Linked DNA regions of Homo sapiens: regions 2, 3, 4, 5 and 6 are each linked to region 1. Evidence: promoter capture Hi-C in 16 types of primary human blood cells and fetal thymus (Javierre and others, 2016). All regions are on one chromosome and are shown on one strand. Each heading gives the region's core, a stretch centred on a gene start or on the middle of the fragment in contact. The rest is flanking DNA. Distances are from core to core; before and after follow the strand shown. Region 1 holds the start of LSR (lipolysis stimulated lipoprotein receptor). Region 2 holds the start of LINC01531 (long intergenic non-protein coding RNA 1531). Region 3 overlaps HPN-AS1 (HPN antisense RNA 1). Region 4 holds the start of HPN-AS1 (HPN antisense RNA 1). Region 5 has its middle 7.1 kb from the start of FFAR2. Region 6 overlaps HPN-AS1 (HPN antisense RNA 1).

Evidence for each region. The method cuts DNA at HindIII sites, captures the fragments that hold promoters and counts their contacts. A CHiCAGO score of 5 or more calls a contact.
Region 2: the fragment with the promoter of LINC01531 here is called in contact with the fragment with the promoter of LSR in region 1 in 2 of 17 cell types (monocytes and neutrophils); the score reaches 11.2 in monocytes.
Region 3: a fragment that was not itself captured here is called in contact with the fragment with the promoter of LSR in region 1 in 4 of 17 cell types (total B cells, M2 macrophages, M0 macrophages and 1 more); the score reaches 8.5 in total B cells.
Region 4: the fragment with the promoter of HPN-AS1 here is called in contact with the fragment with the promoter of LSR in region 1 in 4 of 17 cell types (naive CD8 T cells, naive B cells, total B cells and 1 more); the score reaches 6.4 in naive CD8 T cells.
Region 5: a fragment that was not itself captured here is called in contact with the fragment with the promoter of LSR in region 1 in 2 of 17 cell types (total B cells and monocytes); the score reaches 6.3 in total B cells.
Region 6: a contact is called between a fragment that was not itself captured here and the fragment with the promoter of LSR in region 1, in 1 of 17 cell types (naive B cells). The highest score is 5.5, in naive B cells.

What each region holds. Positions count from the first base shown.
Region 1 is chr19:35,245,765-35,250,268 of GRCh38, forward strand. LSR (lipolysis stimulated lipoprotein receptor) reads left to right here and starts at 3,238. Exons shown (of 10, transcript NM_205834.4): 1 at 3,238-3,367. The coding sequence starts at 3,259. RefSeq lists enhancers at 1,822-1,991, 2,125-2,927, 2,928-3,729 and silencers at 2,842-2,921, 3,332-3,401. The HindIII fragment of the contact is 9,039 bases long and covers 1-4,504 here.
Region 2 is chr19:35,403,664-35,408,265 of GRCh38, forward strand. It overlaps LINC01531 (long intergenic non-protein coding RNA 1531), which reads left to right and starts at 1,944. Exons shown (of 5, transcript NR_040046.1): 1 at 1,944-2,018; 2 at 2,922-4,602. The HindIII fragment of the contact is 14,783 bases long and covers 1-3,745 here.
Region 3 is chr19:35,068,217-35,072,535 of GRCh38, forward strand. All of the region lies in intron 3 of HPN-AS1 (HPN antisense RNA 1), which reads right to left. Among named protein-coding and RNA genes, the nearest start is that of HPN, 29 kb to the left of the region's middle. RefSeq lists enhancers at 1-344, 345-1,030 and a silencer at 2,415-2,615. The HindIII fragment of the contact is 1,655 bases long and covers 1,641-3,295 here.
Region 4 is chr19:35,103,877-35,108,064 of GRCh38, forward strand. It overlaps HPN-AS1 (HPN antisense RNA 1), which reads right to left and starts at 2,428. Exons shown (of 4, transcript NR_024562.1): 1 at 2,353-2,428. LOC124904701 (hepatitis A virus cellular receptor 1-like) reads left to right here. Exons shown (of 3, transcript XR_007067238.1): 2 at 623-2,960. The HindIII fragment of the contact is 15,680 bases long and covers 1-4,188 here.
Region 5 is chr19:35,438,995-35,443,367 of GRCh38, forward strand. No RefSeq gene overlaps it. Among named protein-coding and RNA genes, the nearest start is that of FFAR2, 7.1 kb to the right of the region's middle. RefSeq lists an enhancer at 3,288-3,497. The HindIII fragment of the contact is 3,140 bases long and covers 610-3,749 here.
Region 6 is chr19:35,085,356-35,089,929 of GRCh38, forward strand. HPN-AS1 (HPN antisense RNA 1) reads right to left here. Exons shown (of 4, transcript NR_024562.1): 3 at 1,601-1,745. It also overlaps the pseudogene LOC100420797. Among named protein-coding and RNA genes, the nearest start is that of HPN-AS1, 19 kb to the right of the region's middle. RefSeq lists enhancers at 864-913, 1,024-1,133. The HindIII fragment of the contact is 4,082 bases long and covers 894-4,574 here.

The sequences.
Region 1 (4,504 bases), core at 1,988-4,487:
TATAGTAATTAAAACATATGGTACTTGCATAAGGATAGGCGTATAGATCAATGAAATAGAATACAGAACCGAGAAACAAACCCTCACATATATGATTAATTGATTTTTGACAAGGAAGCCAAGACCACTTAATGGGAAAAGGACAGTGTTTTCAACAAATGGTAGAGGGAAAACTGAATATCCATATGCAAAAAAATGAAGTTGGACCCTTCTACCACATACTAAAATTAAAATGGCCCAGGCCGGGTGCAGTGGCTCACACCTATGTGAGCACTTTGGGAAGCCAAGGCAGGTAGATTACTTGAGGTCAGGAGTTCGAGACCAGCCTGGCCAACATGGTGAAACCCCATCTCTTCTAAAAATACAAAAATTAACCCAGTGTGGTGGCATGCACCTGTAATCCCAAATACTCGGGAGGCTGAGGCATGAGAATCGGTTGAACCCGGCAGGTGGAGGTTGCAGTAAGCGGAGATCACACCACTGCACTCCAACCTGGGCGACAAAGTGAGACTCAGTCTCAAAAAATAAAATGAAATAAAATAAAGTGGCTCAAAGACTCAATTTAAGAGTTAAAACTATAAAACTCTTAGAAGAAAATATTGTTGAAAATCTTCATCACATTGGACTTGGCAACAACTGCATAAATAGGATACCAAAAGTACAAGGAAGAAAAAATAGTAGGTAAATTGAACTTCATCAAATTAAGAACTTTTGTGCACCAAAGGACACTATCAAGAAAGTGAAAAAACCTGGAGAATGGAAGAAAATATTTGCAGATCATATATCTAACAAGGGATTAATATTCAAAATATATATAGAACTCCTACAACTTGACAACAAAAAAACAAACAACCCAATTCAAAAATGGGCAAAGTACTTGAATAGACACTTCTCCAAAGAAGATATACTAATGGACAATAAATTCGTGGAAATATGCTCAACATCGTTAGTCATTGGGGAAATGCAGATTACAACCACAATGAGATGCCACTTCACACTAACCAGGATGGCCATAATCAAGAAAATGGATAATAAGTTTTGGTGGGGATGTGGAGAAATTGGAATCCTCCGTGCATTGCTGGTGGGAATGTACAATAGTGCAGTCATTGGGGAAAACAGTTTGGCAGTTCCTCAAAAGGTTAAAAATAGAACTACCAAGTCACCCAGCAATTCCATTCTTAGGCATATATTCAAAAGAAATGAAAGCAGATATTTGTACACCAGTGTTCACAGCTGCACTATTTACAATAGTCAAAAGGTAGAAACAACCTAGGTCCATCCACAAATGAATGGATAAATAAAACGTAGCATATACATACAATGGTACACTAGTCCGCTGTAAAAAGAAATTTTGATCTTACTGCATGCTACATGGCTTCGACATACTACAACATGGATGGACCTTGAAAACATTATTCTTTGTGAAATAAACTAGACACAGGACAAATGTTAGACGATTCCACTTATATGAGGCACCTAGAATGGGCAATTTGGTAAGCAAAGTAGAATAGAAATTACTAGGGGCACAGGTAGCAGGGAATGGGGAGTTACTGTTTAATGGTCACAGAGTTTATGTTGGGGATGATGAAACAGTTTCGGGGATAAAGAGTGGTGATTGGTACACGACATTGTGAATATACTTAATGCCACTGAATTTTACACTTGAAGTGGTTAAAGCGATAAATATTATAGTTTGCATATTTTATCATAAAAATATTTTTTTAAACGATGAAGGGACGTGAACGGGTTGAAATTTTATAAAAAGTGGCCAGGGAAGGTGTCACTGCAATGGTGTCCTACAGGAGGAGGAAGATCATGTGGACATCTGCGGGAAGGGTGTTCTGGCAGAGGGAGTAGCACGGGCGATGGCTCTGAGGACTGTGAGAAGTATAGTTGGAAACAGCGAGGAGGCCAGGGTGTCCGAAGCTGAGTAAGCCAGAGAGAGTGGGAGGAGGTGAGATAAGAGGGGGAAGGTCAGTTTCTGCTGAGAGTGAGGAGGAGCCACAGGAGGGCTGTGAGCAGGTGGACGTGATCTGGCTTGAGTTTTAACAGGGCCAGTAGAACAAAGCACGCCTGGGTACCGAAACCAGCCACTGGCCAGTTGGCAACCTGGGGGAGTCTAACGCGAGGAAGCGCCCAGGGTTCCCCCAGGATGCGCTTTCCCTCGCCGCCACCTGGAGACAGCAGAGTCACGCCCAGCGCTGCGCAGGCTGATCGCCGCGCCGCGCCCCCGCCCTCGGTCGCAGGTGGCTCGTTCCGGGAATTCCTAAGCGGAAACCGGTCCCAAGCCCCGCGCCTTCGCTCGGCCCCTTTAAGAGCCAGAATTTCCGGAGGGCTGACCCGGGGGCTAGGGATGCCCAGGGGCCGAACCACAAGTTGGGAACGGGTGGGGGAGGTGGCGAAAACTTCCGAAGTGGAATTCCAACTTTTCCTGGCCCTGATTCCCCTTGGGCATCCCTGAGGGGGCAGAGCTTCCCTTCCGGGGACTTTAGAGGGTTCCTCAGGTCATCTAACTGGGAGACACAGGAGGCCCGAAGCGCCCCCCCTCCACCCGGTCCGGAGGAACCCCAGTGGAAGTGGAGAAGTCAGGCGCCACCAACAAGCCTCTCCCAGCCAGGACTTTGCTTAGACTCGCTCCTCCCGGCAGGGCGCACCTAGGCGGGTCCATCGCCAGCCGGGGAGAGGGGTTTGGGCAGGGAGGGAACAGGTGCGCGGCGGGACCCGCCCTATCTCAACAGGTGAATCGCTCCAAGTGGGTCTCGGTTGCATGGATCTCGGTGCGCTTGGTTTGGCCGGAGCAGATGGGGGCCGGAAGGGACCTGTGGTCCGCAGGCGCCCTCCCAGCGGGCCAGTCACTTGGTTCGGGCCCTGGGGGACGGAGCGCACCTGGGTCAGCCCACTTCCGGGGAGGGAGGCAGAGGAACCCCTCCCCGCCGCTCACCCCTAAGCCCAGCCCTCGGCTCCCACCCTTGTGTACCTGGGCCGAACCATTCACCGGAGCGCGCAGCGGGTGGAGTGTGGCTCGGAGGACCGCGGCGGGTCAAGCACCTTTCTCCCCCATATCTGAAAGCATGCCCTTTGTCCACGTCGTTTACGCTCATTAAAACTTCCAGAATGCAACAGGACGGACTTGGAGTAGGGACAAGGAACGGAAGTGGGAAGGGGAGGAGCGTGCACCCCTCCTGGCCTTGGTGCGCGCCGCGCCCCCTAAGGTACTTTGGAAGGGACGCGCGGGCCAGACGCGCCCAGACGGCCGCGATGGCGCTGTTGGCCGGCGGGCTCTCCAGAGGGCTGGGCTCCCACCCGGCCGCCGCAGGCCGGGACGCGGTCGTCTTCGTGTGGCTTCTGCTTAGCACCTGGTGCACAGGTACGGGGCACGGGGCCTCTGACGCTGCGGAACGCCGGAGGGAACTGTAGAGGGGGATGGATGGAGTTGGAGGCGGCGGGAAGCGGGAAGCGGGGGTCTCAGAGGCTGGGACCTTCCGATCCCCTGGGTCTTGGGCGATCTGTTGCGCGCGGGAGTGAGAGGAATTCCCCATTTGTGCCGGGGAGCGCTCCCCGCGCCCTTATCTGGAAGATAGCAGGAAGTGAAACTCCCTGGACGGTGAGACCCGGAGCGGCAGGGAGAATGGAACTCTTTGTGGGGAGGGAGTGGAAGACCGCCCGATCTCTGGGAAAAGAAAAGCCGGGATGGGACTTGGGCGCACCCGGGGATTTCTAAGTTTTGGAGTAACGGGGAGAGGGCACGGGAGGGCTGGATCAGACGCTTCCTAGAGGGACAGAGACGAAGGAACAATGCCTAGGCCTCGGGTGGGTGTGGGACTGGGGACTCCCCATCCCCCGCACCCCACCCACCTCCCGCGGGCTCCGGATTATACGTGCGTAAGAGTCTGGTGGGATGGATTTACGGACTTGAAACCGACTTCTGCTGGCAGGCTTTCACCTGGATGGGATATTTGGGTGGTGATGAGGTCTTTCCCGAGACACTTTTGGTTCAGTCATTTGAAATGACTTTAGAGTAGGGTGAGGTGGTGGGAGGCTGATGGAGATATTGTGGGGGCTTTAGTCCCTCCATGGCAAAGCAGTTCAGGCAAACAACTCCATGGTTTTCCCTCCAAATTCAAAAGGCCCCGGGTAACCTGGAATCCTTCGTAGTCGGTTTTGAAGTGGGGCCTTGGGCGCTGGGGGCATCAACATGGCCATCTGGGCTTGCCTGCCCAGGCCACACAGAGGCCCCTTGTTGTGGGTGAATGGCAAAGGGAAGAGGGGACTGGTGTGGTTCAGAGGCCACAGGCTGGGAAGAGGGATGGCGGGCGAGTCCAAGGAAACTGGCCGTGTCACCGTGCACCTGCCACTTCAGCCCCACGGGTCTATAAAATGGGCATGATTATCGTGGCTACCTCACTGGTCCTGGCAATTAAGGAACAATGTGTGCCAGGCACTCTGTAAACCACATACTTGCGAGTGTCAAGCTGGTGACAGGTGGCGTTCCTGTTGAAGCACC
Region 2 (4,602 bases), core at 694-3,193, 160 kb after region 1:
TCAGCACTTTACAGCTGGCTCCAGTGCACTCTCCCTGTGGCTGCAGGCAGAGCAGCCAGGGCCCCTCCTCCAGCCTCCTCCCACCTCAGAGCTTCAGAGCTTCAGACATCCTTGGTGCTGAGGCCTAGGTTCCATGAGGTCAAAGGGAGAATTCAGGCCGGGCACAGTGGCTCACGCCTGTAATTCCAACACTTTGGGAGGCCAAGGTGGGTTGATCACCTGAGCTCAGGAGTTCGAGACCAGCCTGACCAATATGGTGAAACCTCATCTCTACTAAAAATACAAAAATTAGCCAGGTGTGGTGGTGAGTGCCTGTAATCCCAGCTACTCAGGAGGCTGAGTCAGGAGAATGGCGTGAACCCAGGAGAATGGAGGTTGCAGTGAGCCGAGATCGCCTCTGCACTCCAGCCTGGGCAACAGAGTGAGACTCTGTCTCAAAAAAAAAAAAAAAAGGAGAATTCAGACTAAGCTGTTTTGCAGCATCCCAAGGCTGTGTTGACCTCACGTACAGCTGCATCATGGGAGTGGGCGGTGCGACATCTCAAGTCCAACTCAACCGAGCCATGGTTCAGGCTAAGTTCCCGCTGGTGCCCCTACCTGGAACGCTCTTCAGATAGTGGCTCCTTCTCACCCATTCAAATGTCCCAGGCCTTTCCTGACAGGCCCTGCCCATCTCTCTCTCTCTCTCTCTCAATTTCCCTGCTTGCTTTTTGTTGTTGTTGTTGTTGTTGTTTGATTTTTGGTCCTTTTTTTTTTTTTTTTTTGAGGCAGAGTCTTCCTCTGTCGCCCAGGCTGGAGTGCAGTGGCATGATCTCGGCTGACTGCAATCTCTGCCTCCCAGGTTAAGGTGATTCTCCTGCCCCAGTCTCCTGAGTAGCTGGGATTACCAGTGCCCGCCACCATACCTGGCTAATTTTTGTATTTTTAGTAGAGACAGAGTTTCACCATGTTGGCCAGGCTGGTCTCAAACTCCTGACCTCAAGTGATGTGCCCGCCTCAGCTTCCCAAAGTGCTGGGGTTACAGGCATGAACCCCACCACGCCTAGCCGATTTATTTTCTTTCCCTTTTTTTTCCCCCAGACAGGACCACTGGATTGGAGTGGTGCCATCATAGTTCATTTTAATTTCCAACTCCTAGGCTCAAGTGATCCTCCCGCCTCAGCCTCCTGAGTATCTAGGACTACAGGTGTGCACCACCATGCCTGGCTAATTTTTTATTTTTATCCTTTTTTGTAGAGACAGGGGATCTCACTATGTTGCCCAGGCTGGTCTCAAACACCCAGCCTTAAGCAATCCTCCTCCTGCCTCAGCCTCCTAAGTAGCTGGGATTATAGGTGTGAGCCACCATGCCTGACTTTTTATCTCACTTTTTGTAGAGACGGGGTATCGCTATGTTGACCAGGCTGGTTTTGAACTCCTGGCCTCAAGCAGTCCTCCTGCCTGGGCCTCCCAAAGCGTTGAGATCACAGACGTGAGCCACCTTGCCTGGCCTACTTCCTTTCTTCCTGTAAAATTGCCTTGTTGGTTTGTCTACTTGTTTTCTGTTCATCCTGTTCACTCTTGTCTCCAGCTCCTAGAACAGTACCTCACACAGAGTAACGGCTCCATGTGTTTTGTGACAGGGAAGCAGACAGTGTGGCTTGTTGGAGAGGAGCCACATACCCCCGCCCCCCGATTCATACATGGTGTGACTCAGCCCGAACCATTGCTCAGTTGAGTTGGATTTGAGATGATGCACTGCCCACTCCCGTGATACAGCTGTGTGTGAGGTCAGCACAGTCTTGGGGTGCTGCCAGACAACTTAGTTTGAATTCTCCCTTTGACTCATTGGAACCTAGACCTCAGCACCAAAGATGTCCCCATACCAGTAACCCGGGCAACAGAATGCAGATAAAGGACAGGAGACAAAAGGCGCAGGTTCTGACACATTCTTTGCTTGTGTCATCAGCTAGCAAGTATTCACAGGCACATCCAACCTCCATCCTTACATTCCACAAGGATTTGAGTGTCTGTTATAGGCAAGGGACAATGCTAGGTTTTTTTTTCTAAAAACAAACTTGGGGCTGGGCATGGTGGCTCACACTTGTAATCCTAGCACTTTGGGAGGCCAAAGCGGGTGGACTGCCTGAGCTCAAGAGTTCGACAACTCTTGGTAACATGGTGAAACCCCGTCTCTGCCAAAAATACAAAAAATTAGCCAGATGCAGTGGCGTGCACCTGTGGCCCAGCTTCTCGGGAGGCTGAGGTGTGAGGATCACTTGAGCCCGAAAGGTGAAGGCTGCAGTGGGCCGCGATTGCACCACTGAACTCTAGCCTGGGCAACAGAGTGGGACCCTGTCTCAAAACAACAACAACAAAATAAGAAAGAAAGAAAGAAAAAGCGGAAGTGAGAGATGGATGTGCGTGTAGTCGTGTGGGATAATTGCCCATGGGAAGGAAACAGAATTCAACCTCTTGGAATGTAGGGGGAGGAGGAAGCCTGAAAAAACTGTTCAAATTTGGATTCTGGGCTGAGCACAGTGGCTCACGCCTGTAATCCCAGCACTTTGGGAGGCAAGGCAGGCGGATCACTTGAGGTTCGGAGTTCGAGACTAGCCTGGCCAACATGGTGAAACCCTGTCTACAAAAAATACAAAAATTAGTCGGGCGTGGTGTTGCACACCTGTAATCCCACTACTTGGAAGGCTGGGGTAGGAGAATCACTTGAACTAGGGAGGCAGAGGTTGCAGTGAGCTGAGATCGCACCACTAAACTCCAGCCTGGGTGATAGAGCAAGACTCTGCCTCAAAAAAAAAAAAATTGGACTCTGGGTGAAATAAGTCTGTTGGGGACAAAATCTGGTGGGAGACCCAGAAGGTCAAGCTGCTTTAGAAAGAGCTCAACCACTGACTTTCCTCTTTTTGACCACATGACTCTTCCAGGTATAAAAGCCTGCCGTTGGTGGAAAAGGAAAAGGTGGTCCAGTTAGACAAGATGCCACCGGCTTCTGAAACCAGACATCTTTGAAAACCCACCCATCTACCTGCAGGAAAAGGCAAGGGACCTGACCTCGCCTGGGCTCAGGGAAGAGGTTGCTGGGATCATAACCCCAGGAAGAGACGGGATGGAAGGAGAGCATGCAGGGAGCAGAGGACAGGCTACTCTCCAAGGAGGAGAGGGAAGAGGCCACAGAAATGGAAAAGGGGCCAGGACAAGTCAGTGGAGAGATGGTCAGGGCCTGGCGAGGAGGAGCAGGACAAAAGCGGTGGAGCTCAGCCCCGTGGCGGCAGGGCCACTCCCATTCATCTGGTCCTCTACTTCTGAAGTTCTCGAATGCAGAATGAGATGTACAGATGGGCCAGCAGGTGATATGCTATCTGTCATAGGTTAAGGCCTCATTATTTTATTCATTTTTAAACTTTTTTTTTTTTGAGACAGGGTCTTGTTCTGTCGCCCAGGCTGGTTTGCAGTGGTGCCACCATGGTTCACTGTAACCTTGAAGCCCCTGGGCTCAAGTGATCCTCCTGCCTCAGCCTCCAGAGTAACGAGGACTACAGGTGCACACCGCCATGCCCAGCTAATTTCTTAACGTTTTGTAGAGAAAGGCTCTCACTGTGTTGCCCAGGCTGGTCTTGAACTCCTTGACTCAAGCAATCCTCCTGTCTTGGCTTCCCAAAGTGTTGGGATTACAGGTGTGAGCCACTGCTCCCAGCCACAAGTTTTATTTTAAATGTTTACCTTTCAATGATCACTTCGAGGAGATTTAAGCTTACTCTTTCTTTTTTTTTTTTCTTGAGATGGAGTCTTGCTGTGTCGTCCAGGCTGGAGTGCAGTGGTGCTATCTTGGCTCACTGCAACCTCTGCTTCCCAGGTTCAAGTGATTCTCCTACCTCAGCCTCCCGAGTAGCTGAGACTACAGGCATGTGCCACCACTCCCTACTAATTTTTGTATTTTTAGTAGAGTCGGGGTTTCACCATGTTAGCCAGGTTGGTCTCGAACTCCTGACCTAAAGTGATCTGCCTGCCTCAGCCTCCCAAAGTGCTGGGAGGCATGAGCCACCATGCCTGGCTCATTGTCTAGTTTTTACCAAGAAGATGATGAGATATGCCAGAGGGCTCCGTATCTGCTATGAGAACGTCCCCCAAGAGCAGCTGGCCGTGGTGCTGCAGCTGGAGCTGTGCTTGGAGCTCTTCTTCACCCCCATGGCGGTCACCACCTTCTGCCACTGGCACTTTGTGCAGATCATGCTCTCTGGCCCCAAGTGGGGACCTGGAGGTGCTGAAGAGCCAAGAGACTGGCTGCCGTGACCCTCTTCAACTTCCTGGTCTGCTTGGACCCTGTGCTTTGTCTCCCATGGTGGGTTCCCCCAGTGGAAGAGTCAAATTGGTGGGCAGGCGCAGTGTTGTTCAGTGCTCTCGATGCTGCATTGACCCCTTGATTTTCTTTGTTTTTGTTTTTATTTTGTTTTGTTTTGTTTTTGAGATGGAGTCTTGCTCTGTCACCCAGGCTGGAGTGCAGTGGTGTGATGATCTTGGCTCACTGCAACCTCCGCCTCCTGGGTTCTCCTGCCTCAGCCTCCCGGGTAGCTGGGATTACAGGCACCCACCACCACACCCGGCTAA
Region 3 (4,319 bases), core at 1,218-3,717, 180 kb before region 1:
CCTCAGGTGATCCGCCCACCTTGGCCTCCCAAAGTGCTGGGATTACAAGCCTAAGCCACTGCACCCAGCCCAGCTTCCTAAAATATAGATGATCTACAAGAGCTCCTTTGAGAAACTGACAAACTGTGCATTTGGAAAACGATCCCAGCGTCACTCCCCGATCCCCACACCCCTGGCGAGGTTGAGCCCCACCACTGCTTTGTTGGTCAGGAGCCCCCAGGCCCACATCGTGTTAGCAGAGCCTCAGTGCAGTTTCCCCAAACGTCTACCTCTGGCTGTGGTGTTCTACCCATGGCATGTGGGATGTAATTTGAGACCTGACCTACGGCTTGCTTTGTTAGAAACGTATTGAGTTACAACACGGAGTGACTGAGTTTTCCTTTGTAATTGCCAGCTGAGAAATGTACTGTACCTGTGTTTTAGGAAGTCTGGGGACTCTGAGAGAACATGGTCCACCCTGGGGGTTCTAAACTGAGGTGACCATGTCCTGGAGGGACACAGTTTGCTCTGGTGAGGAGAAGGGCGGGTGTGAGGGGCACTGAAGAAGGCATGGCCCTGCCCTGGGAAGTCTGGGGGGGATGTGGCCTTATTCTAGGGGATCTGATGGAAATTTGGTCATTAAAAGCCAACAGGCATCCTGCTGGGAAAATAAAAACCAGGTGGCCATGTTATTGGAAAGGGGTCCTGATCCAGACCCCAGGGGTTCTTGGATCTCGTGCAAGAAAGAATTCATGGCAAGTCCACAGAGTAAAGTGAAAGCAAGTTGATTAAGAAAGTAAAGGAATAAAAGAATGGCTACTCCATAGACAGAGCAGCCCCGAGGGTTGCTGGTTGCCCATTGTTATGGTTATTTCTTGATTTAGTCTTGATTTATTATTTAGTTATGCTAAACAAGGGGTGGATTATTGACGCCTCCCCTTTTTAGACCATATAGGATAACTTCCCAACATTGCCACGGCATTTGTAAATTGTCATAGCGCTGGTGGGGGTGTAGCAGTGAGGACAATCAGAGGTCACTTTCATGGCCATCTTGGTTTTGGTGGGTTTTCCCGACTTCTTTACTGCAGTCTGTTTTATCAGAAAGGTCTTTATGACCTGTATCTTGTGCCGACCTCCTCTCTCATCCTCTGACTTAGAATGCCTTAATTTACCGGGAATGCGGGCCAGCAGGTCTCCGCCTTACTTTACCCAGGTCCTATTTAAGATGGAGTTGCTCTGGTTCAAACGCCTCTGACAGCCATTCTGAGTTCTGTCTGCACTGTTGCTTTGTTGGAGGAGTGGAGGGGCTGGGGAGATTGTGATTCACTCAACAGCCATTCACTGGTTTCCCTTGTATGCCAGGGGTCAGTGAGCCTCAGTTTCTCCTCCTGCTCCCAGCAACCTTGCCACTCACCCCAAAGAGCTAGGAAGATATTTAAAAAGAATAATAACAGTCACAAGGTTGCTTTCAGTTCCTGCCAGGGTCTCAGTCTTCAGAAAAGCTGAATATGAAAATTACTTCCATGTCATTGTGGTGCCGCTCAGAATCAGAAATATTTGACCCATCTTACAGAATTAGTGCAACTACATCAGGAACCCAAGCCAAGTTTTGCATTCCTATTTAGCATTTATATCTACATAGTCCTTTTCAAATATAGAAAAGCTTTCTGGATGTTAGTTGGAACAGATAGCTCCATATGTGGTTATAAGTTGGCATTCTCCCAGCTGGGTTGAAGGAGAAATGTACAGCTACTCTGCCACAACAGTTATTTCATACATAAAATCACAGCCATGATTAGCAATGATGGTGAAGGCTATTCATTTTATATTCAGAAATAATTATTGTGAACATTCAGATAGCAGCATAAGTAGGGAGATGGACTTTAGTTTCTGCATAAAAAGTAACACTGTTTCAATCCTGCAGTTATGAAGCGAGGAGCTGTTTTGGCTCTTGCTGCATGACATACCACCCAAAGCTAGTGGGTACAGTAAATGCTCATGGATTCTGCAGCTCAGAAAGTTGGACAGGGAACAGCAGGCACAGCTTGTCTCTGCTCCCTGATGACCAGGTCCTTAGCTAGAAAGCCTAAAGGAACAGGGACTGGAATAGGGAGGCTTCTTTTGTTTGTTTGTTTTGAAACAGGGTCCCACTCTGTCGCCCAGGCTGGAGTGCAGTGGTGTGATCATGGCTCACTAAAACTTCTACCACCTGGGCTCAATCGATCCTCCCAACTTAGCTTCCCAAGTAACTGGGACTACGGGTGTGTGCCACCATACCCAACTAATTTTATTTTTTTTTTGTAGAGATGGGACTGGTTGCCCAGGCTGGTCTTGAACTCCTGGGCTCAAGTGACCCTCCTGCCTCGGTATCCCAAAAGGAGGCTCTTTACTCACAAGTCTAGTATCCGGGCTGGGATCACTCAAAAGCTGAGCTCAGCTGGTACTGTGGACTCATTGTCTGGCTAACTTGGGCTTCCTTCCAATATGGCTACCCAAGGACATTTGAACTTCTCACGTGGTGGCTCATGGCTCCAGAGTGAGCATTCCAGCAGACACTGGCCTTTACACCCCAGCCTCATTTCTGCTCCACTCTGTCAGCTGAAGCAATCACAAACCTGTCCAGACCCTAGAGGAGGAGATGGAGACCCCACCCTTTGGTGGTGGAAGGCAGGTCAAAAAATTTGGGGCCACATCTTAAAACTGCCCTAGGAGCTTATGGACTATCGGAGCAAATTAACAGCTGACAAAGCAGAGAAATGATCCCTCAGTAAGGTGTTCAACCTGAAATATTTCCCTGCTAAAATTGTGGATAATAAAATTATGACAGTAATAACTTTTTAGAACACTTTCACATTTGTTCTTACATTACAGAAGTTCATTCTAAGAAGGTGATAGTCAGCTTTGGGCAAATCTTTAATTTAATACTTCACTAATTAGCATTTGGCCACAATGCCTGTTTCACTTCTAAATAATAATAATAATTTATATTAATAAACATATCCATGCATATTTTTGAGCACTTCCTATGTGACAGGTACTGTACTGAGAGTTTTATACATGTTACTTCAGTATTTCCCCAAATTCAGATGTTTGAAAGTGGCTGTCTTAATTTTTGCTATTCATTCATTCAAATAATATTTATTAAGCACCTATTATGTGCCAGACACTGTTCTAGGAATTGGAGAAATATAGGGGACAGGACAAACCAACTTTATGGAGCTTAGGGGCAAACAAATACCGCTGGTACTACTTGTATTGTTTTATTCAAATTATCTCTTTTCCTTTTGTGTGTGTGTGTGTGTGTCTTTTTTTTTTAAGCTTAGCCTTGACTTTATTTATGTATTATTTTTATTGATTTATTTATTTTGAGACCGGGTTATGAGACTGGCTAATTTTTGTATTTTTGATAGTGATGGGGTCTCGCTATGCTGCCCAGGCTGGTCTCAGACTCCTGGGCTCAAGCGATCCACCTGCCTTGGCCTCCCAAAGTGCTAGGATTACAGGCATGAGCCACTGTGCCCTGCCAGCCTTGACTTTAACAATAATGTTTATGAAACTGTGGGTTTGAGGCCGGGTGCAGTGGCTCATACCTGCAATCCCAGCACTTTGGGAGGCCGAGGCGGGTGGATCACGAGGTCAGGAGATTGAGACCATCCTGGCTAACACGGTGAAACCCCATCTCTACTAAAAATACAAAAAAATTAGCCAGGCATGGTGGCGGGTGCCTGTAGTCCCAGCTACTCAGGAGGCTGAGACAGGAGAATGGCGTGAAGCCGGGAGGTGGAGCTTGCAGTGAGCCGAGTTTGCGCCACTGTACTCCAGCCTGGGCGACAGAGCGAGACTCTGTCTCAAAAAAAAAAAAAAAAAAAAAAAGAAACTGTGGGTTTGATGTGGCGGTGGCAGATATATGTTTTTCAATATAAATCAAAACAAATGTATTAAATAAACAAATGCTAGTGAAATAATAACAATTCCTTCTTCACTGCCATCCTATACTCTCCCGGGGTTTCCCGCCAGCAGCCCATGTGCCGCCCTTTGGGAAACACTTGTTTCATCGCCATGCAAGCTGGGAAGGAGGGTCTGTGGGGTTTGCTGTCCTACAGAGGGGCTGCATATCCCGTCCAAGGTCCACCTCCGAGGGGCAGGGCTGGCGCTGGGGCCTGGGGCTGGAACAGCTCGGGATATGGCACTGAGCTCTCATTCCCAGCCTCTCTCTGCTGAGCAGGTTCGGACACTTTCTCCCTGGCGGGGTGGTGGGGGGGTCCCTGGACCGCTAGGGAAGTGCATGTGTCCAGATGCTGGCGGTGTTCTGGAGAAAAAGATGGGATGCCTTAACCCAG
Region 4 (4,188 bases), core at 1,178-3,677, 140 kb before region 1:
CTCTACAAAAAATCAAGTACATTATCCAGGTGTGATGGTGCGTCTGTAGTCCCAACAAGTCGAGAGACTGAGGCGAGAGAATCACTTGAGCCCATGATGTTGAAGCTGCAGTGAGCCGAGATCATGCCATTGCACTGTAGCTTGAGTGACAGAGCGAGACCCTGTCTCCAAAAAAAACAAAAAGGGAAGCAGTGAAGTGTGGAGCAGAGATCGGAAGGAGAGACCGGGAGCCATGTAGATACAAGGGGAGAGTGTCCAGGCAGAGGAGCAGAGGCTGGAAGGGTGCCTGGTGTGTTGGAGGAGTGGTGGGGAGACCCGGGGAGCTGGCGCAGAGTGGGCAGATGAGTGAAGGGGTGTGTGAGACAAGATGAGGACAGAGGGGACAGAGGTTTATTTTGTGGGACTGCCCAGGCCACGGTGGCGAGTTTGGATTTTCTCCAAGTGTACTAGGGAGGTATGGAAAGGTTTTGAGCAAAGGAGGGATAGGATCTAATGTGCGATTTCAAAGGGCTCCTTGGGTGCTATGTGCAGAGTGGATCTCAGCAGTGGCAGGAGCAGGGGCCCAGGAGGGGCAGGTGTCTGGACGTGGTTGCCCGACGTAGCCTGGGTGTCTGTGTTCCAGGTGAACGGCTCCCAGGCTGGCCTGCCCCTGACTCTGGCTGGGGGGCACACTCCAGGCCTTCTTCACGCCCTTGGCCATCACAGTCCAGGTGGCACCCGGCCTCTCCATGACCTTTCACGAATCCCATGCCCTCTGAGTGGCAGTGCCTGAGACCTACACCAACACCCTCTGTGGCCTGGGCGGGGACTTCAGCGTGGATACCCAGGATGACTTCAGCGGCTCTGATAGCACATGGCTCTCTGATGCCAACAGCTTAATGGGGGCCCAGCCCCTCTGTGCCCACCAGACAAGGCAGCCCTATACCAGGCCTTCTGTGGCTTGCTGGGCACCCAAGATGGGCCCTACAGGGCCTGCAGTAAGGACGTGGATCCCCAGGTGCATGTGGAGAACTGCATCCATGACCTCTGTGCCACGGGGGGCTCAAGAGAGACTCTGTGTGCCATACTGGGGAGCTACGCCCAGGAAAGCCAGCAGCGCAGCGTTCCCATGCAGCCCTGGAGACACCTCTTGGCCTGCAGTAAGTGGGTATTCCCAGGGAGGGTCTTTCTCAGCCTGACCTCCCCAGCTGGCCCAATACCACTTCCAGGATGTCCTCCTAGGTCAACACCACCCAAAGTGACCCACTGCATGCCTTTCTGGCTAACTGTTCCCGCGAAGAACCTACCTGCTTAAAACTCTGCAATAACAATAACAGATGACACTGAGTGCTATTGCATCAGTCAGGATGGTCTGGGTTATGCTGAAGTAACGAACTAACCTGAACATGACCCAGCATGACCAAGGTTGTTTCTTCATCACTATCTTCGTCACCTTTGTCATCATCACAGTCACTATCATCATTACCGTCACCATCACCACCACCACCAGCGTCACCATCACCACCACCACCAGCCTCACCACCACCACCACCACCAGCATTACCATCATCACCACCACCACCATCACCACAAGCATTACCATCATCACTACCACCACCATCATTGTTACCACAACCACAACCATCACCACCATCACCATCATCATTGTTACCACAGCCACAGCCATCATCACCACTACCATCACCACCATCATCACCATCACCACCATCACCATCATCATCACCACCACCACCACCATCAACATCATCATCACCATCATAACCATCACCACCAGCATCACCATCACCACCAGCATCAGCATCACCATCACTACTATAATCACCATCACCATTATCACTACCACCACCATCATTGTTACCACAACCACAACTATTGTCATCACCACCACCACCACCCTCACCACTATCATCACTGTCACCATCACCGCTATCATTACCATCACCATCAACACCATCACATCACCAACAACATCACCAGCCCTACCACCATCATCATCATTACTATCACCACGACCACCACCACCACCATTATCACCACCATGATCACGCCACCAGCATTATCACCACCGTGACCACGCCGCCACCGTTAATCACCGCCGTGACCACGCCGCCACCGTTATCACCGCCGTGACCACGCCGCCACCGTTATCACCGCCGTGACCACGCCGCCACCGTTATCACCGCCGTGACCACGCCGCCACCATTATGCTACATCCTGATGATGCCTCCACCTCCCCTCCTTTGCCTTTATGACTTACCCTTGGCCCCCACAACCCTCTCTCCGCTCCCTTGGTCCTATTCTGGTTGGAAATGCTCCAGAATAGTAATGCTTGCTCAATTATTTAACTCCTACCTGTTTTCTTCCAGAGCTGGCCTGTCCTCCCCGCAGCAATTACGAGCTCTGCGGCTCCTCCTGTCCTAGCTCTTGTGCCGAGCCTGCCCTGCCCGACAGCTGCCTGACACCATGCCAGGATGGCTGCCAGTGTGACCCAGGCTTTGTGCTCAGTGGCATGGACTGCGTGCCCCCAATCCAGTGCAGCTGCTCCATGGGGGGCAGGTACCACCACCCGGCTGGGGAGGCCTTCTGGACTGGGGAGCGCTGTGAGCAATTCTGCCACTGCCAGGCCTCCACCCACGCCGTGTGCTGCTCCCCGTCCTCCTGTGGGCCGGGGCAGAGATGTGAGACCCTCAGGGGCATCTTTGGGTGCCACCCACTCTCCCCTGGCATTTATCAAGCAACCATGCACTCACACGTCGCCTCCTTTGACCGGAAGAGTGTTGAGTTTCCAGGCACTTGCGCTTCTGCTTTTACCAAGTCCTGTGGCTCCTCCAGCTCATTGCGCCTTTTCAAGGTGGAAATTGGGAAGGAGAAACAAGTCCAGCAGTCCCATTGTGTTCATTTCAAAGATGTAGGTTCATGGGACCCAGGTTTGTCTGCAGAGAGAGCCCCGACCTGATGAGGTAAGCACTCATTGGCATCTAGAGACTCTTGAACCGATTGAAGCTAAAAGAAATACATTGGCTCAAACTAAGTAAAAATCATGTGATAGCCTAGTGAAAGTGTAGAGATTCTGGGTCCACAGAAGTTCCCTATATACCACTTTGGCTGTTTTGGTTACAGAAAGCCTCATAAAAGGTAACTCAAACCAGTCACAGACTGTGTTTTATGATTTTTAGACTAATTACATAACTGAAAATTCCAGAGGGAGATCAGGCATGGTTTGATCAGGGTGCTAACTCAGTTTTTCAGCATTTCTCTTGGTCTGTGTTTCTCTATAGCATTAGCTTTGTCCTCAGGCTGGCTTTTCTTGTGATGGCAAAATAACTGCCAATTTTCCAGTCATTAAATGTGTATTCCCCATTGTCCAAAACCCGAATCTTTTCTTACCCCAAGTACTCAACAAAAATTCCAATGCTTCACTTTGATTAAACCCCACTGAGCCAATCAGTGCAGCCCAGAGGTTTTCTTAAGCCTATCTAATCCTACTCAGGAGTTGTAGGTGGGAGAGATCCTGCCCCTACCCCCCATCTCTGGCAGCTACTTCTTGCAGGGAGAGAGGGCAAAATGGGAATCCACCCCTGTGTCCCTATGTCCCCCGAAACCAGTATTTCTTCTTAACAATCTTCAAAGAGTGTAAATGCCCTGGTAAACCTCCACTCTGAGACCTGAAACTTTTGTCTAGAACCCACAGGGGTGGATGTGTTTTCTAGGCCCGAGGGCCCCTGCCTACAAGAGTTCCATTGTTGGCTATTGGAAAACACACAGCCACACCCCTCCCACTCCACCCCCTTCCAGGAAGGGAACCAGCTTTCAGAATTAGTCATGCTGTCAGCGTCCCACACAACGAGCCCATTGACTCCAAAGGGCAGCACAGCAGATGGACTGCTATTATCCCAGTGGTACAGATGGGGAAACTGAGGCCCGGGAAGGCAGACTTGCTTGCCTAATGTCGCATAAGGAGAAAGTGGCTGTGCTAGGATTGGAACCCAGGCTGTCAGGTTCTGAGCCCTTCCCTTTCTGTCTGTGGGCCTACTGTGTGCTCCCAAAAAGCTGTGGCCAAATTAAGGAGGTGGCATGTCTGATTCATCTGTGGCGGGGCCTGGGATATATAGTAACTCTCAACAATGGTGTTCATTAGTCCGGGCATGGAGGCTCACGCCTGTAATTCCAGCACTTTGGGAGGCCGAG
Region 5 (4,373 bases), core at 930-3,429, 190 kb after region 1:
ATGGAACACAGGTGTTCAGCAGGATTCCATTTCTCCGGAGGCTCTTGAGAAAATCCATTCTTTGCCTCTTCCAGCTTCTGGTGGGCGCTAGCTTGCAGCTACATCACTCCGGTCCTCCAGGATCACAGCATCTTCTCCCCTTCTGTCTGATTTCTCCCTCTACCTCTTTCTTTTTGTGATTACATTTAGGACCATCTCAGATAGTCCAAGATTATCTCCCCATCTAAAGATTCTTTTTTTTTTTTTGAGACGGAGTCTCACTCTGTTGCCAGGCTAGAGTGCAGTGGCACGATCTCTGCTCACTGCAGCCTCCACTTCCCGTATTCAAGTGATTCTCCTGCCTCAGCCTCTGGAGTAGCTGGGATTACAGGATTACAGATGCACACCACCATGCCTGGCTAAGTTTTTGGATTTTTAATAGAGATGAGACGGGGTTTTGCCATATTGGCCAGGCTGGTCTCGAACTCCTGGCCTCAAGTGATCTGCCTGCCTCGGCCTCCCAAAGTGCTGGGAACACAGGTGTGAGCCAATGCGCCCAGTTCTGCCTCCTCCTTTTTGTGATTATGTTTAGGGCCATCTCAGATAGTCCAAGATGACCTCCCCATCTCAAGCTTCTTAATCCCAATGCAAAGTCCCTTTTGGCCGTGGTTCCAGGGATTAGGATATGGGTCTCTTTTGGGGGGACCATCATTTGGCCACCACAGCTGGTGTGATTGGCCAGGAGTGAAGTCTAATAAACAGGACTCAGGTGGACGGAGAGTGGAGGAAGGAGAGGTCTCTGCAGAGAGAGGTTGGGGTATGGCTACCGGCAGTGGGTGGGAACAACCACAGAGGCCCACCACCAAGGCCACAGAGACAGAGTCTGCAGAGTTCTCCCAAGAAGCTAGCCTTGAGACGCTCCTTTTAATTTTCTTCTTCAGCAATGTACCAGCCCGGGGATGGGTTCTGCAGGGACTGTGGAAGTGAAGGACCCCACGACTGGAGTGACAGGGGAGGCTGCATAATAGACAACTAAAAGAGAAGATGCACGGAGGGGGGTGGGCATAAACTGTTACCTTCACAGTGGGTGAGCTCCTCTGGTGAGGCCTCTGCAGGGCTCAAAAAAGGTGATACGCAAATGAACTCAGGGGAACTGCACTGGCACAGGGGCCATTACGTCTCAAAGTCCATCAGCACGTGCTGGTCTAGATTCTCCTTCCCTCTTCATCCCTAGGAGAGTTCCATTTCTCTCTGGCATCCTGTACTTCCTTATTAATTGTCATTTATTTAAAATTGCACACTGGGTGCAATGGCCCACACCTGTAATCCCAGCACTTAGGGAGGCCAAAGCAGGAGAATCGCTTGAGGCCAGGTGTTTGAGACCAGCCTGAGAAACACAGCAAGACCCTGTCTCTACAAAAAATAGCAAATTAGCCAAGTGTGGTGGCCAAGCCCGTAGTCTCAGCTACTTGGGAGGCCGAGGTGGGAGGACCGCTGGAGCCCAGGAGGTCGAGGCTGGAGTGAGCTATGATCACACCACTGCACTCCAGCCTGAAGTGACAGAGCGAGACCCCCACCTCTAAAAATAATAATAATCAGCCCAGACGTGGTGGTTCACACCTGTAATCCCAGCACTTTGGGAAGCCAAGGTGAGAGTATGGCTTGAGGCCAGGAGTTTGAGACCAGCCTGGGCAACATAACAAGACCCCATCTCTACCAAAAATAAAAATAATAAAAACATTTAGAAATAATAATAATAAAACAAAGTTACATATCTCAAATCCTAAGTGATCCTCTCTGCCCCGGGTGCACATTCTCCCTTATCCATGCCATCCTCAATCCCCTCAACCCCTGGCGACTGCAACACCCTCCTAGCGGATCCCTCTGCTTCCAGTTCTGTCCTTCTAGGGAGCATTCTTCACACAGTAGCAGGCTTGATCTTCTAGAATCATATATCACATCACATCATTCCCCTCTTATGGCCCTAAGTGACTTCCCACTGCTCAAAAATGGAGTCTTAAGGCCGGGTGCAGTGGCTCACACCTGTAATCCCAGCATTTGGGAGGCTGGCAATTGTTTCATTCATTCATTCATTTAACAAATATATATCCACCCCCCAGGATGTGCCAGGATCTGTGCCAAGCATTAGAAATATCATGGTTGAAAAATACAGATGGGTCCAGGCGCAGAGGCTGACGCCTGTAATCCCAGCATTTTGGGAGGCCGAGGCAGGCGGTTCACCTGAGGTCAGGAGTTCAAGACCAGCCTGGCCAACATGGTGAAACCCCGTCTCTACTAAAAATACAAAAATTAGCAGGGCATGGTGACAGACACCTGTAATCCCAGCTACTCAAGAGGCTGAGACGGGAAAATCAATTAAACCCAGGAGGCAGAGGTTGCAATGAGCCAAGATCACGCCACTATGCTCCAGCCTGGATGACAGAGCAAGACTCCGTCTCAAAAAAAAAAAAAAAGGTATATAGCCTGGATCATCAGTGCTGACCATGAGGAAAAAGGTCCTGTGGCTTTTGCTGCAAGTCCCTTAAACCACAAGACAGCTCTCAAGTGATTACACGTCCAGGATGTCTTAACAGGTCCCAGAAAAAGATAAATGAGGCATCTGAGGACAAGCGTCCTCTGAGTTTTTGAAATGGACTTATCTCCATTCTGAAGTCACTCTCATCCATCTATCCTCCACTGTCATCCAGGAAATAGTTACTAAGGGCCTAACATGTTCCAGGCTGCACGCCAGGTCCTGAGGATGCAATGGTGAGCAAAGCAGCTGTGTTCCCTGCTTTGTGGACAGTCTCATAAGGGGAGGTAGACTTCACATCCATCTTAATGCAAATCCTCATGCTAATGAACACATTATAATAAATTGAGACGTGGGACATAGGAAGGAATAGTAAAAGATGCTATGAGAGCAACCAACAATGAGAAAATAAACTCTAAAAAAATTAAATTTACAGCTGCCTCCAAAATATTTAGAATCATGCAAAACCTCTATGCTGACAACTAGAAAGCATTGCTGAGAGGAATTAAAGACCTAAATAAATGGAGAGAGATGTCCAGTGTCAATGATCCCAAATTGATCTATGGATTCAGTGTGAGCCCATTCAAAATTCCAGCAGGCTTTTCTGTAGAAATTGATTTTAATATTTATATGAACATGCAAATGACCCAGAATAGCCACAGCAAATTTAGAAAAGAAGAAGGAAGTTGGAGGACTTACTCTATTTCAAGACTTATTATGAAACCACAGTAATCAAGACTGTGTGCAGGCCGGGCACAGTGGTTCGTGCCTGTAATCCCAGCACTTCGGGAGGCCGGGGCACGTGGATCACTTGAGGTCAGGAGTTGAAGACTTGCCTGGCCAACATGGCGAAACCCTGTCTCTAATACAAATACAAAAATTAGCCGGGGGTGGTGGCAAGCATCTGTAATCCCAGCTACTCAGGAGGCTGAGACAGAAGAATTGCTGGAACCCAGGAGGAGGAGGGTTCAGTGAGCTGAGATCACGCCACAACACTGTAGCCTGGGAGACAGAGCAAGACTCCATCTAAAAATAAAAATTTTAAAAAATAATAAAAATAAATAAATTTTAAAAATACCGTGTGCAAATGATGAAAGGCAAGACACAGAGTCTCTCAGAAGAATAGAGCGTCCAGAAATAGTACCACACACACATACAACCAATGGGTTTTTAGTACAGGTGCCGCGGCAATTCAACAGGGAAAGGAAAATCTGGAATAATTGGATAAGGAGGTAAAAGCTTCTTAGGACATAAAAGCACAAACCATAGAAGAAAAACCAGATAAATTAGACCTTGTCAAAATGTAACACTTTTTTGCTTTTCAAGAGACAATTAAGAAAATGAAGACCAGGCACAGTGGCTCATGCCTGTAATCCCAGCACTTTGGGAGGCCGAGGTGGGCAGACTGCTTGAGCTCAGGAGGTCGATGCCAGCTTGGACAAAATGGCAAAACCTCATCAGTACAAAAAATAGAAAAATTAGTCAGGCATGGTGGCAGGTGCCTGCAGTCCCAGCTACTTGGAGGGCTGAGGCGGAAAGGTCACCTGAGCCTGGGAGGTCAAGGCTGCAATGAGCTGTGATGGAGCCACTGCACTCCAGCCTGGGCAACAAAGTGAAACTCTGTCTCAAAAAAAAAAAAAATTAAAAGAAGAGAAAAGTCACAGAATGGCAGAAAATATTGGTAATATATACATCTGACAAATGACTAGTACCAAGAATATAATAAAGAACTCTCAGAACTCAACTATATGAAAATAATCCAATTTTTCTTTTTTTTTTTTTTTTTTTTGAGACAGAGTTTCACTCTGTTGCCCAGGCTGGAGTGCAGTAGTATGATCTTGGCTCACTGCAACCTCTGCCT
Region 6 (4,574 bases), core at 1,685-4,184, 160 kb before region 1:
TGGAGGCTGCAGTCAGCCAAGATGGTGCCACTGCACTTCAGCCTGGGTGACAGAGCAAGACTCTGTCTCAAAAACATAAAAAAAATGAAAAAGCATAGGTCAGATCTCATCAGATTCCTGATTAAAAGCATCCCTGGGTCCCCCTTACCTCTGGGATGAAAACTGACCTCCAAGCCTCCTCCTAAGAGGCCCCCACAGCGGCCTCTCTCTGCTCACCCTGCCTCCTCCTACACTGGCTTTGTCTAGCTCACTCCACACCGAGGGTCCAGCCACACTGGCCTCTCTGCTGTCCCTGGACCACGCCAAATGCCTTCCCACCCCTGGGTCTTTGCATCTGCTGTTCCCCCGGCCTGGAATGCTCTTTCCCAGACGTACACACGGCTGGCTCCTTCCATCATTCAGGCCTCAGCTCCAATGTCACCTCTGCAGAGAGGCCTCCCTAGCCACTGTCCTCAAATCAGCCCATGGGGCTCAGCCACTCTGCGCTACCTAAAGCTGGGTAACACAGATCTAACCCAGTTTCTCAATCCAAAATTATCTTTTATTTATTGCTAGTTTGTCGCCCATTTCCCCCCTCTAGAATAGGCCAGCACACTTTTATGATAAAAGGCCAGATAATAAATATTTTAGGCTTTCAGGGCCACACTCTGCCACAACTACTCAAAGCTTCTGTTGTAACATAAGAACAGTCATAGACAATACACGAACCGGCGAGCTGGCTTTCATGAAGACATTATTTATAGACACCGGAATTTGAATTTTACATGATTTTCACACCTCACAAAATTTCCTCTTTTGGTTTCTTTTTTTCTAACCACTTAAACATGTAAAGACTATTTAGATTGTAGGCTGTGCCAAAACAGGTGGAGGGCCAGATTTGGGCCCAAGGGTGAAGCTTGTCAACGTCTGCCCTAGAACATCTGTTTTATGAGGTCAGGGATCTCTGTCTTGGTCATTGCTGTGTCCCCAGGCCCTGGGATGTTCCCGGCATGTAGTGGATGCCAAAGTTGAACAAATATGTGCTATAGAAAAGGCTTCGACACATTCATTAATTCTTCCAACAAATATCCATTGAGGTTTGCCGTGAGCTGGGCTCTGGGGAGATAGCAGGGAACATAATTTGAACGTGGGGCAGTGAGTTGACATCCTTGCATTGAATGACTTGTGTTCCTCCAGAGCTGACCTGGCCCCCCGACAGCCACTACGAGCTGTGTGGCTTCTCCTGTCCCAGCTCCTGCACCGAGCCTGCCCTGCCCGACAGCTGTCTGACACCATGCCAGGATGGCTGCCAGTGTGACCCAGGATTTGTGCTCAGTGGCACGGACTGCTTGACCCCCATCCAGTGCAGCTGCTCCATGGGGGGCAGATACCACCTGGCCGGGGAGCCATTCTGGGCTAGGGAGCACTGTGAGCAATTCTGCCACTGCGAGGCTTCCACCCATGCTGTGTGCTGCTCCCCCTCCTCCTGTGGGCCAGGGCAGAGATGTGGGACCCTAAGGGGCATCTTTGGGTGCCACCCATTCTCCCCTGGCACCTGCCAAGCAGCCGGGCACTCACACATCATCACCTTTGATGGGAAAACTGTTGAGTTCTCAGGTACCTGTGTGTCCGTCTTTGCCGAATCCTGTGGCTCTTCCGGCTCACTGCCATTCTTCAGGATACAGCTGTGAAAGGAGAACAGATCCAGCAGCCCCCTCATGCTCATCTTGGAGGTGTCTGTCCAGGTTAATGGGACCCAGGTCCACCTGCGGAGGGACAGCCCAGGCATGGCTCAGATAAGCACCAGCTTTGGGACGTGTCGTTTCTAGGAACCCCAACCCTTCACCCAAACCCATAGGCCCAAGGGAAAAACTTATTCTGTCTCCATTATTTCTACATTTTACCTCTATTTTCTGATTATATGCCCATTTTTGACTATATCCATCAGATGCATTCAGCTAATATAACAGAAACACTCTCAGACCAGCTTAAGAAAAAAAAGAATTACTGATTTACACAATTGAAAAAAAAAATCTACAGGTGTATGGATTCAGGCATAGCTGGACCCAGGTGCTTGAACAATATGTCTCAAATCTGTCTCAATTTCTGGGCTCTCCTTTCCTTCATTTTCAGACAGGCACCATCCCATCCCACCTTGTAGGGACAAGGACAGCTGCCAGGTTAGCAAATGTCACTGGAGGAAAAGTGTCCCTCACTGGCCCAGCTTGAGTCATGTGACCACCCCTGAATCCCTGATGGACTAGCTGATTGGCTGGGCCTGGGTCATGTGCTGGAAGTTAGGATAGGATTGACTTTCTGTGAACCACATGGATTGATTTTGGAGGGGTGAGTTCTCAGGGAAATCCAGAGAAAGGAGAAATGAATGCAGAACAGGATAAAACAAGAGATGGTCACTATTATAGTTATGTCCTTGTTCCTTCATCTAAAAATGTTTTACATGTATTGGTACGGTGGCTTACATCTGTAATCCTAACACTTTGGGAGGCCAAGGCAGGTGGATCCCTTGAGCCCAGGAGTTCAAGACCAGCCTGTCTCAAGCAGGCAATATAGCGAGACCCCGTATCTAAAAAAGAATTAGGTGGGTGTGTTGGCGCACGCTTATAGTCCCAGCTTATAGTCCCAGCTACTTAAGAGGCTGAGGTGGGAAGATCGCATGAACACAGGAGTTCATGGCTGCAGTGTGCCATGATTGTGCCACTGCATCCAGCCTGAGGGTCAGAGTGAGACCCTATATCAAAAAAAATCAACATTTTTCACGTATTTGAACACCTACTATGTGCCAAGCAACACTGACCCAACTGTGGTCCTATGCTCCCGAGCCTTCCTTTGATTCTGCCTGCTCCTTAGGTGAATGGTGAGACAACAGCCCTCCCCGTAAGCCTGAATGGGGGCAGCCTTGCCGTCCACTGGAATGGCCTCTTCTCCCTGCTGCAGTCAGACTTTGGCCTCTGGCTCAGCACAGATCTCACCTACAGCCTTACCCTCACCCTGCCCCACCTCTACAAGGGTCACACCTGTGGGCTCTGAGGCAACTTCAACTGCAACCCCAGTGAGGACGCTAAGGCTGACATTACCTTGGAGAAGCAGAGCAAGGCTTGTAGGGACAGCTGTGGGGCTGCCTGTCCAGTCTCAGTCTGCAATGACCAGGGGCAGATTGTGTCAGCCAGGAGGCAGTGCTGGCTCCTGCAGGACCCCCAGGACCCTTCAGCCACTGCCACTGGGAGATCAACCCAGACCCATATGTTTCCAGCTGTGTCGATGATTTGTGTCTTGCTGGGGATGATGACCACATCCTCTGCCTGGCCCTGCAGACATATGCCGCCATCTGCCAGGGCGCCAACATCACCATCAGGCACTAGAGGAATTCTTCCTTCTGTGGTGAGTCATGGTTGAGCAGGGCAGGAATTCATCTGCATGCTCTGTATGGCCACACACAGACTGACATCCTTCTGTACTCCTGGGCTGCCTGAGTGCCCCAACCACTTCCCATATTCCCAATTCCAGCACAGGAAGGCCTTCCAGGTTCTCCTCCTAGGCTCCAGCTGGACGCATGTGGATTGGTAGGGGGCCTGTATGCTACCGACTGTTATGTTTTTTTTTGTTTTTTGTTTTTTTTGAGACAGAGTCTCACTCTGTCACCCACGCTGGAGTGCAGTGACTTGTTCTTAGCTCACTGCAACCTCCTCCTCTCGGGTTCAAACTATTCTTCTGCCTCAGCCTCCCAAGTAGCTGGGATTACAGGTGCCCGCCATCACGCCCAGATGATTTTTTGTATTTTTAGTAGAGATGGGGTTTCACCATGTTGGCCAGGCTGGTCTCGAACTCCTGACCTCAGGTGATCCGCCCACCTCGGCCTCCCAAAGTGCTGGGATTACAGGTATGAGCCATGGCACCCAGCCCGCTATGTATTTTGAATACCACCCTGGGTTGACTGGATCCCTGGCCCCCTGTCAAGGGGATGTCCTTTTCCACCCTCAGAATGCCTGACCTGAGATGCCACAATAATAATCCCAACAACTGCTAATACTTATTGAACATCTACAATGTCCCAGGCATGGGGCCGAAGGCTCTGTGTACCTCTTGCCGCCACTGTCTCAGAAACACCCTGCAAGTGAGAGGCAATGACTGTTATTATTCCCACTTTACATTTGGGAAAACAGAGGCTCACAGAGGTAAAGCCATTTGTCTACTGCTAATCACAACAGACAGAGTTGAGACTTGAACTAAGACTTTCTTTCTCCAGAGACAAAAGAAGTTTTATTACTAGCCATATCATCTAATTCTTTCTTTCTTATTTAACTATTATGGAAAATTTGAACATAAAAGTAGAGAGAATAGCCTATTGAATGCCCCTGTACCCAGAAGGCAGCCTCAACAACAGCCAAGTTGTGGCCGACCTGTGTCCACCTCCACCCCTCCCTTATTGATTTATTTTGTGTAAAGCAAATCCCAGACAACGTGTAAACCTGTAAATACTCCAGCATTATTTTTTTTAATAGATAAGGACTTTTAAAAAGAAAAAAACCTGCTGTGGCCGGGCGCGTGGCTCACGCTCACACCTGTAATCCCAGCAC